Regions from separate parts of the Homo sapiens genome. Here regions 2 and 3 are each linked to region 1. Evidence: promoter capture Hi-C in human tissues and cell types (Jung and others, 2019). All regions are on one chromosome and are shown on one strand. Each heading gives the region's core, a stretch centred on a gene start or on the middle of the fragment in contact. The rest is flanking DNA. Distances are from core to core; before and after follow the strand shown. Region 1 has its middle 5.4 kb from the start of CCDC43. Region 2 holds the start of SLC25A39 (solute carrier family 25 member 39). Region 3 holds the start of GRN (granulin precursor).

Region 1 (4,271 bases), core at 1,329-3,828:
GGATGTTAAGATGGGTCCGGGTTGGCTGGGCGCGGTGGCTCACGCCTGTAATCCCAGCACTTTGGGAGGCCGAGGCGGGCGGATCATGAGGTCAGGAGATCGAGACCATCCTGGCTAACACGATGAAACCCCGTCTCTACTAAAAATACAAAAAAAAAAATTAGCCGGGCGCGGTGGCGGGCGCCTGTAGTCCCAGTTACTCCGGAGGCTGAGGCAGGAGAATGGCGTGAACCTGGGAGGCGGAGCTTGCAGTGAGCCGAGATCACGCCACTGCACTCCAGCCTGGGCGACAGAGTAAGACTCCGTCTCAAAAAAAAAAAAAAAAAAAAAAGATGGGTCCGGGTGCAATCTCTTATGCCTGTAATCCCAGCACTTTGGGGGGCTGAGGTGGACGGATTGCTTGAGGCCAGGAGATCGAGATCAGCCTGGTCAACATGGTGAAATCCTGTCTCTACCAAAAAAAAAAAAAAAAAAAAAGATTAAAATGCCAAATTACATATTTTACCACAATTAAAAATAAAAATAAATAAAGAAGTGGGGGTGGTAATGAAACATCTTCAACTACATTATTTTTACTAAGGACTTTTGGTATACTACAAATAATAAATATTTATATTATGTACTTCTTTCTTTTTTTTTTTTTTTCAGACGGAGTCTTGCTCTGTCGCCTAGGCCTGGAGTGCAGTGGTTCAATCTTGGCTCACTGCAACCTCCGCTCCCCGGGTTCAAGCGATTCTTTTGCCTCAGACTCCCGAGTAGCTGGGATTACAGATGCCCACCACCATTGCTCGGCTAATTTTTGTATTTTTAGTACAGACCCGGTTTCACCATGTTGGCCAGGCTGGTCTTGAACCCCTGACCTCAAGTGATCCACCCACCTCGGCCTCTCAAAGTGTTGGGATTACAGGTGTGAGCCATCACGCCCGGCCTACTTCATTTTTTAACGATTTTCTCCTTTTTGTAGTTCTCTTTTTGTATGTTTTATGATGGACATACTAATTTGATATAGCAGTTCACACAAATAATTCATAAATAACTACATATTAGTGCATTAGGTGTACATGCTGAGAATATTTTTACTGCTAAGAGTATGTGGCAAAAATGTCTGATGCTCACTGATCTAGAGGAACTTTCCCATGGTGGGCAAGGGGACCACCTAAGAATGTGAACTGGTGCACTGACTGGAAAACTAGGAACTAACCTCACCATCCATCGGCAGAGGAATGGATCAGCTGGAGCATATTAAAGCAACGGAATACTATGCAGTGATTTAAATGGATGGATAAGAGCTACATATATCAACATGGGTAAAGATATATATAAAATATATATAGATACATATATATTATATATATTTTTTTCTTTTTTTTTTTGAGATGGGGTTTCGCTTTTGTTGCCCAGGCTGGAGTGCAATGGCGCGATCTCGGCTAACCGCAACCTCCGCCTCCCGGGTTCAAGCGATTCTCCTGTCTCAGCCTCCCAAGTAGCTGGGATTACAGGCATGTGCCACCAAACCTGGCTAATTTTGCATTTTTAGTAGAGATGGGGTTTCTCCATGTTGGTCAGGCTTGTCCCGAACCCCTGACCTCAGGTGATCCGCCCGCCTTGGCCTCCCAAAGTGCTGGGATTACAGGCATGAGCCACCGTGCCCGGCCATATACACGTATATATTTTTTGAGACAGGGTCTTGCTCTGTCACCTAGGCTGGAGTGCAGTGGCGCAGTCTTGGCTCACTGCAACCTCCGCCTCCCAGGTTCAAGCTATTCTCCTGCCTCAGCCTCCTAAGTAGCTGGGATTACAGGCGTGCGTGACCACGCCCAGTTAATTTTTGTAGCTTTAGTAGAGATGGGGTTTCACCATGTTGGTGAGGCTTGTCTCAAACTCTTGACCTCAGCTGATCCACCCGCCTAGGCCTCCCAAAGTGCTGGGATTACAGGCATGAGCGACTGCGCCCGGCCCAACATGGGTAAATATTTTAAACAACCTTGAGTGAAAAAGCACATTGCAGAATGAAAAGTACAGCATGCACACCAATGTGATATATTATGGATACATCCATATGTTGTAATATGTATTATATATGTAGCAATGTGTACTATGTTTAAAAACATTCAAGAAGAAAATAAACACCAAATTCAGGAATAGTGGTTACATCTGGGGAGAGAGGGGAGAAAATGAGGTTGGAGAAAGGGCTTCAAATTTGCTTTCTTTTACAAAAAGATACAAAGTAAATAAATATAACAGTTCAAAACCAGTCTCCTTCAGTTCTCCTCCTCAGTGGACAACCATTCTCACATATCCCTGGTGTATCTTTCCAGAGATAGCCTATGCACATACAAGGACACATATGTACATGTATTCCCCTACCCTAACTTCTTTTTAAATAGTGATGGTGGCAAGCATTACATATTGTTGATCTGTACTTTTTAAACAATGTATCTCGAACTTTGATACATGTCAGTGCATAAAGAGCTTCTTTGTTCTTTTTTTTTTTTTTTTTTCGAGACGGAGTCTTGCTCTGTAGCCCAGGCTGGAGAGCAATGGCATGATCTCCTCTCACTGCAACCTCTGCCTCCTGGATTCAAGCGATTCTCCTGCCTCAGCCTCCCGAGTAGCTGGGATTACAGGTGCTTACCACCATGCCCAGCTAATTTTTGTATTTTTAGTTGGCCAGGCTGGTCTCGAACTCTTGACCTCAGGTGATCCACCTGCTTTGGCCTCCCAAAGTGCTGGGACTACAGGCACCAGCCACCGCGCCCGGCCTCTTTGTTCATTTTTTTTTTTTTTTTTACAGCTGTGCAATACTTCTTTGTGTGGCTACCAGAGTTTTTGAACCAGTCTCATATACATAAAATGTAGACTATTCTTTTACTACAAAAAGCTTCACTACAATGAATATCCTTAGAAAAATGTGATTCTACACAAATGCACAGTTTTATTTTTTAAAGACAGAGTTTTGTTCTGTTGTTCAGGCTAGAATGCAGTGGCATCATCATAGCTCATGTAAATTTGAGCTCCTGGGCTCAAGTGATCCTCTTGCCTCAACCTCCTGAGTAGGTAGGACAAAAGACATGCACCACCACTTTTTTTTTTTGTAGAGCTGGGGTCTCATTATGTTGACCAGGTTAGTCTCGAACTCCTGGCCTCAAGCAATCCTCCCTTGTCAGCCTCCCAAAGTACTGGGATTACAGGTGTAAGCCAGTGTGCCTGGCCATTATACAAAATATTAAATCAAAATTTTTTTCTTTTTTTGAGACAGAGTCTCACTCTGTTGCCCAGGCTGGAATGCAGTGGCATTATCTCAACTCACTGCAACCTCCGTGTCCCGAATTCGAGTGAATCTCCTGCCTCAGCTTCTCAAGTGGCCAAGTAGCTGGGACTATAGGCATGCATTACCACACCTGGCTAATTTTTATATTTTTAGTAGAGACAGGGTTTTGCCATGTTGGCTAGACTGGTCTTGAACTCCTGACCTCAGTGATCCACCCACCTTGGCCTCCCTAAGTGCGGGGATTACAGGCGTGAGCCACCGCGCCCAGCCAACCACGCCCAGTTTAAACCACGCCCAGTTTAAACAGGCACCACGCCCAGTTTAAACCAAAAATTTTAAAAATAATTAATACTTAACACTATTAAATCGTATACTTAAAAATAGTTAAGATGGCAAATTGTGTATTTTACCACAAGTAAAGATAAAAATAAATGAATAACTTATGAACAAATTCCCAGAAGCAGAAATGCTGGGTCTTTTCAAACAAACAGTCCTCCAACAAGACCAGATCCATTTACTTTCTGCTCTAACATTTTCCAATGTCTTTTACCCAAGCACAGTTCAATACAGCATATTATCAGACTTTTTTGATCTGAAAAGCGGACGTGGTATTTCACTGCAATCTTAATTTGCGTATTTTATTTTTTGTAAGCTTTCAATTTGTCGCTTATCCATTTATATAATTTTTTCTTTTTTTTTGTTGAGACAGAGTTTTGCCCTTGTTGCCCAGGTTGGAGTACAATGGCGTAATCTCAGCTCACTGTAACCTCCGCCTCCTGGTTTCAAGCAATTCTCCTGCCTCAGCCTCCCAAGTAACTGGGATTACATGCGCCTACCACCATAGCTGGCTAATTTTTTTGTTTTTTTTGTTTTTTTTTGAGATGGAGTCTCACTCTGTTGCCCAGGCTGGAGAGCAGTGGTCAGATCTCGGCTCACTGCAAGCTCTGCCTCCCGGATTCGCGCCATTCTCCTGCTTCAGCCTCCCTAGTAGCTGGGACTA
Region 2 (4,271 bases), core at 470-2,969, 370 kb after region 1:
ATTTCTTTTTCAGACGGAGTTTCGCTCTTGTTGCCCAGGCTGGAGTGCAATGGCGCAGTCTCGGCTCACCGCAACCTCCGCCTTCCGGGTTTAAGCGATTCTCCTGCCTCAGCCTCTCGAGTGGCTGGGATTACTGGCATGCGCCACCACGCCCGGCTAATTTTTTGTATTTTTAGTAGAGACGAGGTTTCACCATGTTGGTCAGGCTGCTCTCGAACTCCTGACCTCTGGTGATCCGCCCGCCTCGGCCTCCAAAAAGGCTGGGATTACAGGCGTAAGCCACTGCGCCCGGCCTTTTTTTTTGAGACGGAGTGTTACTCTGTTGCCCAGGCTGGAATGCAGTGGTGCGATCTCGGCTCACTGCAACCTCCGCCGGCCGGGTTCAAGCGATTCTCCTGCCTCAGCCTCCCGAGTAGCTGGGATTACAGGCGCCAGCCATCATGCCCGGCTACTTTTGTATTTTTAGTAGAGACGGGGTTTCACCATGTTGGCCAGGCTGGTCTCGAACTCCTGACTTCAAGTGATCCGCCCGCCTCGGCCTCCTAAAGTGCTGGATTACAGGCGTGAGCCACCGCGCCCGGCCTGTGGTAATCTATTTCAACAATAACCTACTGCAAAGAGTTTTGAGACTCAGAAGAAATCACGATACGAGAGCAACCAACACCAAAACGTCGATGCCCTCCCGCACTCAGTGCTCTTCCTCTCCGCGCAGAGTCATTCCGGGCCTTAGGCGAGGTTGTGATTTGCCCAAGGTCACGCGAAGGTGGGATCTGGCTCCCCATGGCTCTCCCGTCTCCCCCGGCTTGCTCACGTCCCAGCCCGCCCGGCCCGGGCTGCAGCTCAGCTAACCCAGTGGCGCACACCCGCGCGGGGCCCTGTGGTTTACAAAGCGTTTTGCAGTTGCAGGCCTGTCCTGTAACCTGAAAAATGGGGGCGATGCTAAGGCCGGCGAGAGAAGTCGCCGCGAAGTTTTCAAGTCTCGGCGGGTAGCCCGGCAAGTAACTTCGTCGTTATTGTGTGGTCTCCCGGCGATCTCGAAGAACTCATTCTCACTGCCGCCGCCACGCACCTGAGGACACCGAGGAAGAGGGCCAGTGCGTCACCCTCGCCGTCCAGAAGGCGCTGGGGTTTCCAGTGCCGCGCGCGGCCGGGGCGGGGCTGGTGAAAATGCGCTGTTAAGGCCGGCGCGGCGGCTCACGCCTGGAATCCCAGCACTTTCGAAGACCGAGGTGGGCGGATCGCTTGAGCCCAGGAGTTCCAGACTAGCCTGGGCAAAATAGGGAGACAAAAATAAAAGTAACAAACCAGCCGGGCGTGGCGGCGCGCGCCTGTGGTCCCAGCTACTCCGGAGGCTGAGGCAGGAGGATCGCTTGAACCCGGGAGGTCAAGGCTGCAGTGAGCCTAGATCGCGCCACTGCCCTCCAGCCTCGGCGACAGAGCGAGGCTGAAAAAGATGCTGTCTAAAAAAAGATGCTGGAAGTGCGTGCTGCTGCCACGTTAAGCGCGACGTGGAGACCGCGAAGTTGGCCGGCAGCTCTCAGCGCTGGACAGGCATGGAACTCGCCCGCGCGGCCCCGTCAAGGGGGCGGGACCGTCGCAGGTCCGGGCGGAGACGCGAGTGGGCGGAGCCGGGGACACTCCGGGCTTGCGGCTGGTCGGCCCGCGGCGGGCGGGGCCTCGTGGCGCGGTGTAGGGGCGGGGCCCCCTTGGCTGCTTTCGGCGTCGGCCTAGGTGCGCTGCGAGCGCGCGCGGACCGCGCACAGGCGGCGGAGCCGGTATGGGCCCGCCTGACCCTGGGCGCCGCGCCGCACGAGCACCAGCCTAGAGCCAGGTAGGCGGCACTGGGCCGGGGCTGGGGGCGGAGACGGAAGCGGGGGTCTCCGGGCGGCCGTGCGAGCCAGGGCAGGTGCTGGGGCCGTCGAGCTGGCGTGGTCCCCCTCACCTGGCGGCTCTCCGCCGTTCGGGGCCGGGAGTGTCGCCGAGGGTCGGGGAGACGTCCTGGTCCTACGTTCCTACTTCCCGCTCTCCCGGCTGCGCCCCGGGCCTGCATTTTGGGGCGGGAACCCAGAGACTGCTCTTTCTCTCCGGGCCCCGGGTCTGGCCCGTCCGGCCGGGCGGGGAGGGCCGGGCATCCCAGCCCGCAGTCCTGAGGAGGCGACGGGCCCTTCTTGGTCACCGGATCTGTTTACACGTCACCCTCGATGCCCGGCCGTCCCTCCACGCCCAGTAACTTGGGCTCTCAGGTGCCTGCCCGGGGCCTTGGTGCTGGAGTGGGGGCTGTGGGGGCAGCACAGGTACTCTGATTTTGGGGCCACGAGGGCCAAATCCGCGCCTGCACGTAGGAGGTGCGCAGTGGACACGTGCGAGGTGGACGAGGGAAGGACCCTGGCTCCTACTGCATTCGAGCGATAGGTCTGGCACCCTAGCTTCCTTCGGAACCACTCCTGAGTGACCTTGGGCAGGCCACCTCGTCTCCCCGAGCCTTAGTTTTCCCCGGCGGAGGGGGGCGGACAGTCCCTGCTTTAGAGGTCATTGCCAGGGTTGTTGAGGCAACAGATGTTTCGAGGGCGGTGGATGAGGGTTGGGTTAAAGTCTCACAGTGGGCCGGGTGCGGTGGCTCACGCCTGTAATCCCAGTGCTTTGGGAGGCTGAGGCGGGCGGATCACGAGGTCAGGAGATCGAGATCATCTTGGCCAACATGGTGAAACCCTGTCTCTACTAAAAATGCAAAAATTAACTAGGCGTGGTGGTGCGCGCCTGTAGTCCCAGCTACTTGGGAGGCTGAAGCAAGAGAACCGCTTGAACGGGGGTGGATGTTGCAGTGAGCCAAGATGGTGCCACTGCACTCCAGCCTGGCAACAGTGCGCAGAGCGAGACGCCGTCTCAAAACAAAAGTCTCACAGTGGCCCAGCCTCCTTTCCTGCCATCCCTGGAGTTGTGGTCTGTTTGAGGTTTGGTTTTCAGGACTGAAGCTTCAAGATGGCTGACCAGGACCCTGCGGGCATCAGCCCCCTCCAGCAAATGGTGGCCTCAGGCACCGGGGCTGTGGTTACCTCTCTCTTCAGTAAGACCTAGGGGAGGTGGGGTGGGGGCGGGTGGGGATGGGGCAGACCGGAGATTGGAGGCTGTGTGGTCCTGGGGGAGGAGTCCTAGGGGTGGGGTCCTGAAAGGAGCCTTCAGACCCGCTTCCTCCCCCAGTGACACCCCTGGACGTGGTGAAGGTTCGCCTGCAGTCTCAGCGGCCCTCCATGGCCAGCGGTGAGTACCTGACCTGGAACTAGTGAGGGGTGGTGCCTGGGCAAAAGAAAGATCTCCCAGAGGCTGGCCGTGGTTTCTCATACCTGTAATCCCAGCGCTTTGGGAGGCTGAGGTGGGTGGATCACCTGAGATCAGGAGTTCAAGGCCAGCCTGGCCAACGTGGTGAAACTCTCTCACTACTAAAACTACAAAAATTAGCCGGGCTTGGTGGCATGCGCCTGTAGTCCCAGCTACCTGGGAGGCTGAGGCAGGAGAATCGCTTGAACCGGGAAGGTGGAGGTTGCAGTGAGCTGAGATTGTGCCACTATGCTCCAGGGTGGGCGACAGAGCAAGACTCCATCTCAAAAAATAAAATAAAAAGATCTCCCAGAGATGGGGTCCCTAGGGCGGGTGGGGGCTCTCCTGACTTGAGGGGCTGCCTTGTATTTTAGAGCTGATGCCTTCCTCCAGACTGTGGAGCCTCTCCTATACCAAATGTGAGTGCCCCAAGCCACAGGGAGCATGGGAGGGTGCAAGGGGGAGACAGTCCTTGTCCCTGTCCCCAGGGCACCAGTGGGCTCCACAGCCATGGACTAGCATATACTCCCAGGTCCTGCCAGCCAGTCCTGTGACCTGCACCAGAACATCCACACAGGGACCTGGCCTTTACTGGCCTTCCAGGGATAGGGGCCCACTGCCTCCCTGCAAGGTTCTAGGATCCTGTCATTATAATGCCCCCTGCCTTTCCCCAGTGCCCTCCTCTCTCCAATCCACAGGGAAGTGCCTCCTGTATTGCAATGGTGTCCTGGAGCCTCTGTACCTGTGCCCAAATGGTGCCCGCTGTGCCACCTGGTTTCAAGACCCTACCCGCTTCACTGGCACCATGGTGAGGAGCAGCTGGGTCCGTAGGGATTCGTCGGTGTCCGTGAGGAGTTCGGTCTGGCTGGGCAGCAGACCCAGGAGTAAAGGGATTGGGCAAGGCACGCAGAGGTAGCCGGTTCCGTCAGGAAGTGCTTCCGGAGAAGGCAGTACCT
Region 3 (4,271 bases), core at 540-3,039, 350 kb after region 1:
GGCTGTAGTACAGTGGCGCGATCTCAGCTTACTGCGAACTCCGCCTCCCAGGTTCAAGCAATTCTCCTGCCTCAGCCTCCCAAGTAGGTGGGATTATAGGTGTGCGCTACCACACCTGGCTAATTTTTGTATTTTTAGTAGAGATGGGGGTTTCACCATGTTGGTCAGGCTGGTCTCAAACTCCAGACCTCAGGTGATCCACCTGCCACGGCCTCCCAAAGTGGTGGGATTACAGGCATGAGCCACCACGCCCAGCCGACATGTCATTTCCATTGTATTAGGTATAAGTAATCTAGAAATGATTTAAAGTATGTATAGGTTATATGCAAATATTACACCATTTTATCTCAGGGGCTTGAGCACCCACAGATTTTGGGGTCCTGGAACCAGTTCCGTGAAGATACCAAGGGACACCTATAACACGTCACACATCAGGTCATGGTGACGTCAGGCTTTGATGGCCCCAGAGCGTATTGGACCTGGGTTCATATCACTAGTGGCACGATGGGCAGTGCCTGGGAATGGTGCAACAGGTACAACAGAAACAGGGTACAGGGACTGCCTGAAAATCGCACTTGGGTCCTAATCCTAGAATTGCCAACTGTGAGGGCCTGAGAAGTTGCTCTCTGTCTGTGCCTCAGTTACCCCACGAGTCTAGGTGTGGATACCACTGCGGGGGGAGGGGCAGGAAATCTCACCCACCCAGTCACTCACATCCTCTCTGCTCCACCTGGCTTTCCTCAAGTGCCCCTCCCCTAACTCAGCATCCCCAAGAGGCCACCTCCTGGACAGATAAGGATGAAGTTCACTGGTCCTGGACAGTGGACCCTCTCCTCAGCCCCACAGCTCCCAGGCAAAGCACCTGCAGCTGGCACCGCCTGCTTCCTGGGTGTTCTCAGCAGGCTGTCCGCTGCCATGGCTTGCTGGGAAGGGGAGTCTGTCTGCACAGGAGTGTTCGGCTCCCTGGTGAATTACCTGTGCATGTGGCCCCTCCTGTTTACCCTAAATTGAGGGAGTATAGTGTATGCTTCTACTGAATACAAGCACTCGCATACAGAAACAGGGATGAGGAGGCGAGTCGCAGTCTCTCATGCCACCCTACACCGCCAAAACAGCCAGAGGGGACAGCAGCCTCTTCAAGACCCTAGCTCCGTTATCTTCCACTAGGTGGCACCCCCCAACTCCGAGTGCCAAGGGGAGAGGAAATTCCCAAAAGGGGAGCCAACCTAGCTGCAAATGAGCAGGAAAAAGTGGCTGGGAGAGGCGGAAGCTAGCTCGTCCCACCCGCAACAAGAGGAAGTAAGGAGGAGCCAGACCAGGTTCAGTCACCACTCCCAAGTCCCTACTACCTTCGAGAAGCCAAGGTCTCAGGTCTCGTTCCCAGGCCCTCGGAGCTCCCAGCCCAGGGTCGCGCGCCCCTCCGGCTCCAGGCCGCCGCGGGAACCACCCACCACCACCAGGAGAGGGGAAGAAGCCAGCACCTACCGACAGGGGTGGAGCTGGGTCAAGAATGGTGTGGTCCCTGCTTTGGGGGAATGCTGGGGAGGTAGAAAGCCCCTTCTAACGGGGCGTCACTGCAATTACTGCTTCCTCTTTCCCATAAAACTCCCCCTAGTGTATCAGAACCCCCAAGGAGTTTCAGTAAGCGGTTCTTCTGTTGTCTCCGGCTGAGACTCCAGGGGAACCTCAAGCTCACATGGCCCTGGCGGGCCCCTGGGCAGGAGCAGGCGAGAGGTCTGCGCGGCCGCTCTCCTACCTGCGTCCGACTCCGCGGTCCTTGGGCAGCAGCAACCGGGTAGCGCTCAGACTACAGACCCCAGCGCGATGACCCGCCTACCTCAGTTTCCATTGGCCAGGGATCAGGGCTACCCGCTCCCATTGGCTACTTATCAATATAGAGGTGGGGCCAGCCTGGAATGCTGTGTTTCTTTTCTACTCAAATCACTCTCCTCCCTGCTTCCTCTCGCCCCACACCCCATTTCTAGGGATCATGTGATTGGAGAATCATGTGACGTCGGGACAGCCTCAGCAGGGCAGCTGGTGCTCGTCGCCTTCCTTAACCCATCCTGCAGGCGCCTGGGGGAGTTTGCTAGAGATGATAGCGCGTGTCTGGGGCATTGACAGTGCGAGGGAGTGTTATGAATTGGGAATATTTGTGCTCGCCTTTCTATCCTTTTGTTTGTTTGTTCTGAGACGGAGTCTCACTCTGTCGCCAGGCTGGAGTGCAGTGGCACGATCTCGGCTCACTGCAACCTCTGCCTCCCGGGTTCAAGCGATTCTCCTGCCTCAGCCTCCCGAGTAGCTGGGACTACAGGCGCGCACCACCACGCCCAGCTAATTTTTGTATTTTTAGTAGAGACGGGGTTTCACCATGTTGGCCAGGATGGTCTCGATTTCTTGACCTCGTGATCCGCCCACCTCGGCCTCCCAAAGTGCTAAGATTACAGGCATGAGCCACCGCGCCCGGACTTGTGTGTTTGTTTTAGAGACAGGGTCTCGCTCAGTCGCCCAAGCTGATCATAGCTCACTGCGGCCTGCAACTCCTGCTCCCAAAGCGATTCTCCTACCGCAGCCCCCCAAGGCGCTGGGATTACAAATGTGAGCTACTGAGCTGGCTCGCTCCTATCCTATCCTGCCCTGTCTTGTCCTGTCCTGTCCTGCCCTATTCTGCCCTATTCTCCAAACTCGGTTGACATGCTAGGCAGGCCCCAGAGTGAGTTGAAGGATGGTTTCCAGGACAAAGATAAACAGCCCCAAAGCCCTTTCCTCAAGGTGCTCAGCAGGACAGGGAGCAGGGATTGGTGGGAGACAGTCTCAGGCTGAATCTAATTTAAGATACAAGGTTGTGCGCCAGTTGCCAGGTGTAGGGAGAGGAAGTAGATTGTCTCCAGGTGGGGAAGAAGAGATTTCATTCCACCTTAGGAGCATCTCCTTGAGCTGAGTCTGGGAAGATTTTAACTGGCAGGTGGAGGAGGAGGTGTTGGGAAGAGCCCTGGGAAACCAGATGGGAAGGGCAGGCTTGGCAGGGATTGAATGCCATGTTCAATGCCAGTGGGCTTCAGGAGCTGCTGGGTGCCTGGCACGGGCTGGGCTGTGGTGGGGGCTGTCGAAAGAGAAGTGGCTTCCTAGTCTCCAGATCGGCCCTGCCTTCGAGGAATTGATATGGGAGGGTGAGGAGAGAAAATGTACCACAGAACAGATTAGCCAGTGACAAGAGTCAGCCTGCTTGGTGCCAAAGGGCCTGGGCCAGGCAGAGATGGATGATGGGAGATGGGCCAGGAGAGAGGAGAGGCCCAGGGAAAGCCTGATACTGGGCCGTGGAGGAACGGCAGTGTCTGCACAGGGGATGGAGACTGCTGCAGCCTGAGCAAGGAACTGGAGCTGAGGATGAGGCAGGGGCAGGGGGATGGCTAACCAAGCTCGAGGCAGCAGAAGTCGGAGGAGGGAAAGGGTGCCAACCGAGCTGTGGAGTCGTGTGGCAGGGGTTCTAAGCCTGGAGCTAGAGCAGACCCAGACAGCGGATAAGACACCTGGCCTGCTGAGGACCTAGTACTAGTCTGTGCCCTGGTGACACATTTGTGCTTATTTTCCTTCCTGTGTATCTTGAGACTAGGGAGTATAGTTTATGCTTCTATTGAAACACACACACACATGAAACTTTCATGAAATGTTAGGTGAATCGATCAATAACCTACTAATTACAACCACCCAGAACCAGAAAAAAATACAGGTAGAAGAAAAAAAACCTAAACAGACTGAAACAAATATCACAAAGTCTAATCGTCAAAGCCGTGATTCTTGAGCAGCGGCAATTTTGCCGGCCAGGGACATTTAGGAGTGTCTGGAGACAATCTGGGTTGTCACAACTCAGGGTGGAGGGACACTGGCATCTGGTAGGTAAGGGCCAGCAATCCCACTAAACATCACACGACACACAGAACAATCCCCCACAACAAAGAAGTATCCTGCCCAAAAGGTCAATAGTGCTGAGACTCAACAACCTACTTCACAAATGTTTCTCTCTCTCTCTCTCGCTCTTTTTTTTTTTTTTTTTAACATCAGAAGGGTAAGGTGCCACGATAACGAGGTCTGTAATTCCCTACTCAGGAGGCCGAGGCAGGAGAATCGCTTGAACCCGGGATGCAGAGGTTGCAGTAAACCGAGATCGTGCCACTGCATTCCAGCCTGGACAACAGAGCGAGACTCCATCCACCCCCGCCAACACAAAAAAATTAAAGTGTACAACTCAATGGTTTTTAGTGTCTTAAGAG

The links. Contacts are between HindIII fragments. The study calls those that stand out against the background at their distance.
Region 2: a contact is called between the fragment with the promoter of SLC25A39 here and a fragment that was not itself captured in region 1, in 1 of the 25 tissues and cell types used here (hippocampus).
Region 3: a contact is called between the fragment with the promoter of GRN here and a fragment that was not itself captured in region 1, in 1 of the 25 tissues and cell types used here (dorsolateral prefrontal cortex).

Annotation. Positions count from the first base shown.
Region 1 is chr17:44,693,040-44,697,310 of GRCh38, reverse strand. No RefSeq gene overlaps it. Among named protein-coding and RNA genes, the nearest start is that of CCDC43, 5.4 kb to the right of the region's middle. The HindIII fragment of the contact is 6,435 bases long and covers 1-4,271 here.
Region 2 is chr17:44,322,271-44,326,541 of GRCh38, reverse strand. It overlaps SLC25A39 (solute carrier family 25 member 39), which reads left to right and starts at 1,719. Exons shown (of 12, transcript NM_001143780.3): 1 at 1,719-1,831; 2 at 2,965-3,064; 3 at 3,199-3,258; 4 at 3,690-3,734; 5 at 3,990-4,123. The coding sequence starts at 2,980. It overlaps LOC124904009 (a long non-coding RNA gene), which reads right to left and starts at 1,089. Exons shown (of 2, transcript XR_007065768.1): 1 at 921-1,089. RefSeq lists enhancers at 637-686, 1-796, 867-926, 977-1,056, 1,217-1,406 and silencers at 1,507-1,936, 1,957-2,176. The HindIII fragment of the contact is 13,748 bases long and covers 1-4,271 here.
Region 3 is chr17:44,342,820-44,347,090 of GRCh38, reverse strand. GRN (granulin precursor) reads right to left here and starts at 1,789. Exons shown (of 13, transcript NM_002087.4): 1 at 1,757-1,789. RefSeq lists enhancers at 1,517-1,666, 2,818-3,743. The HindIII fragment of the contact is 17,447 bases long and covers 1-4,271 here.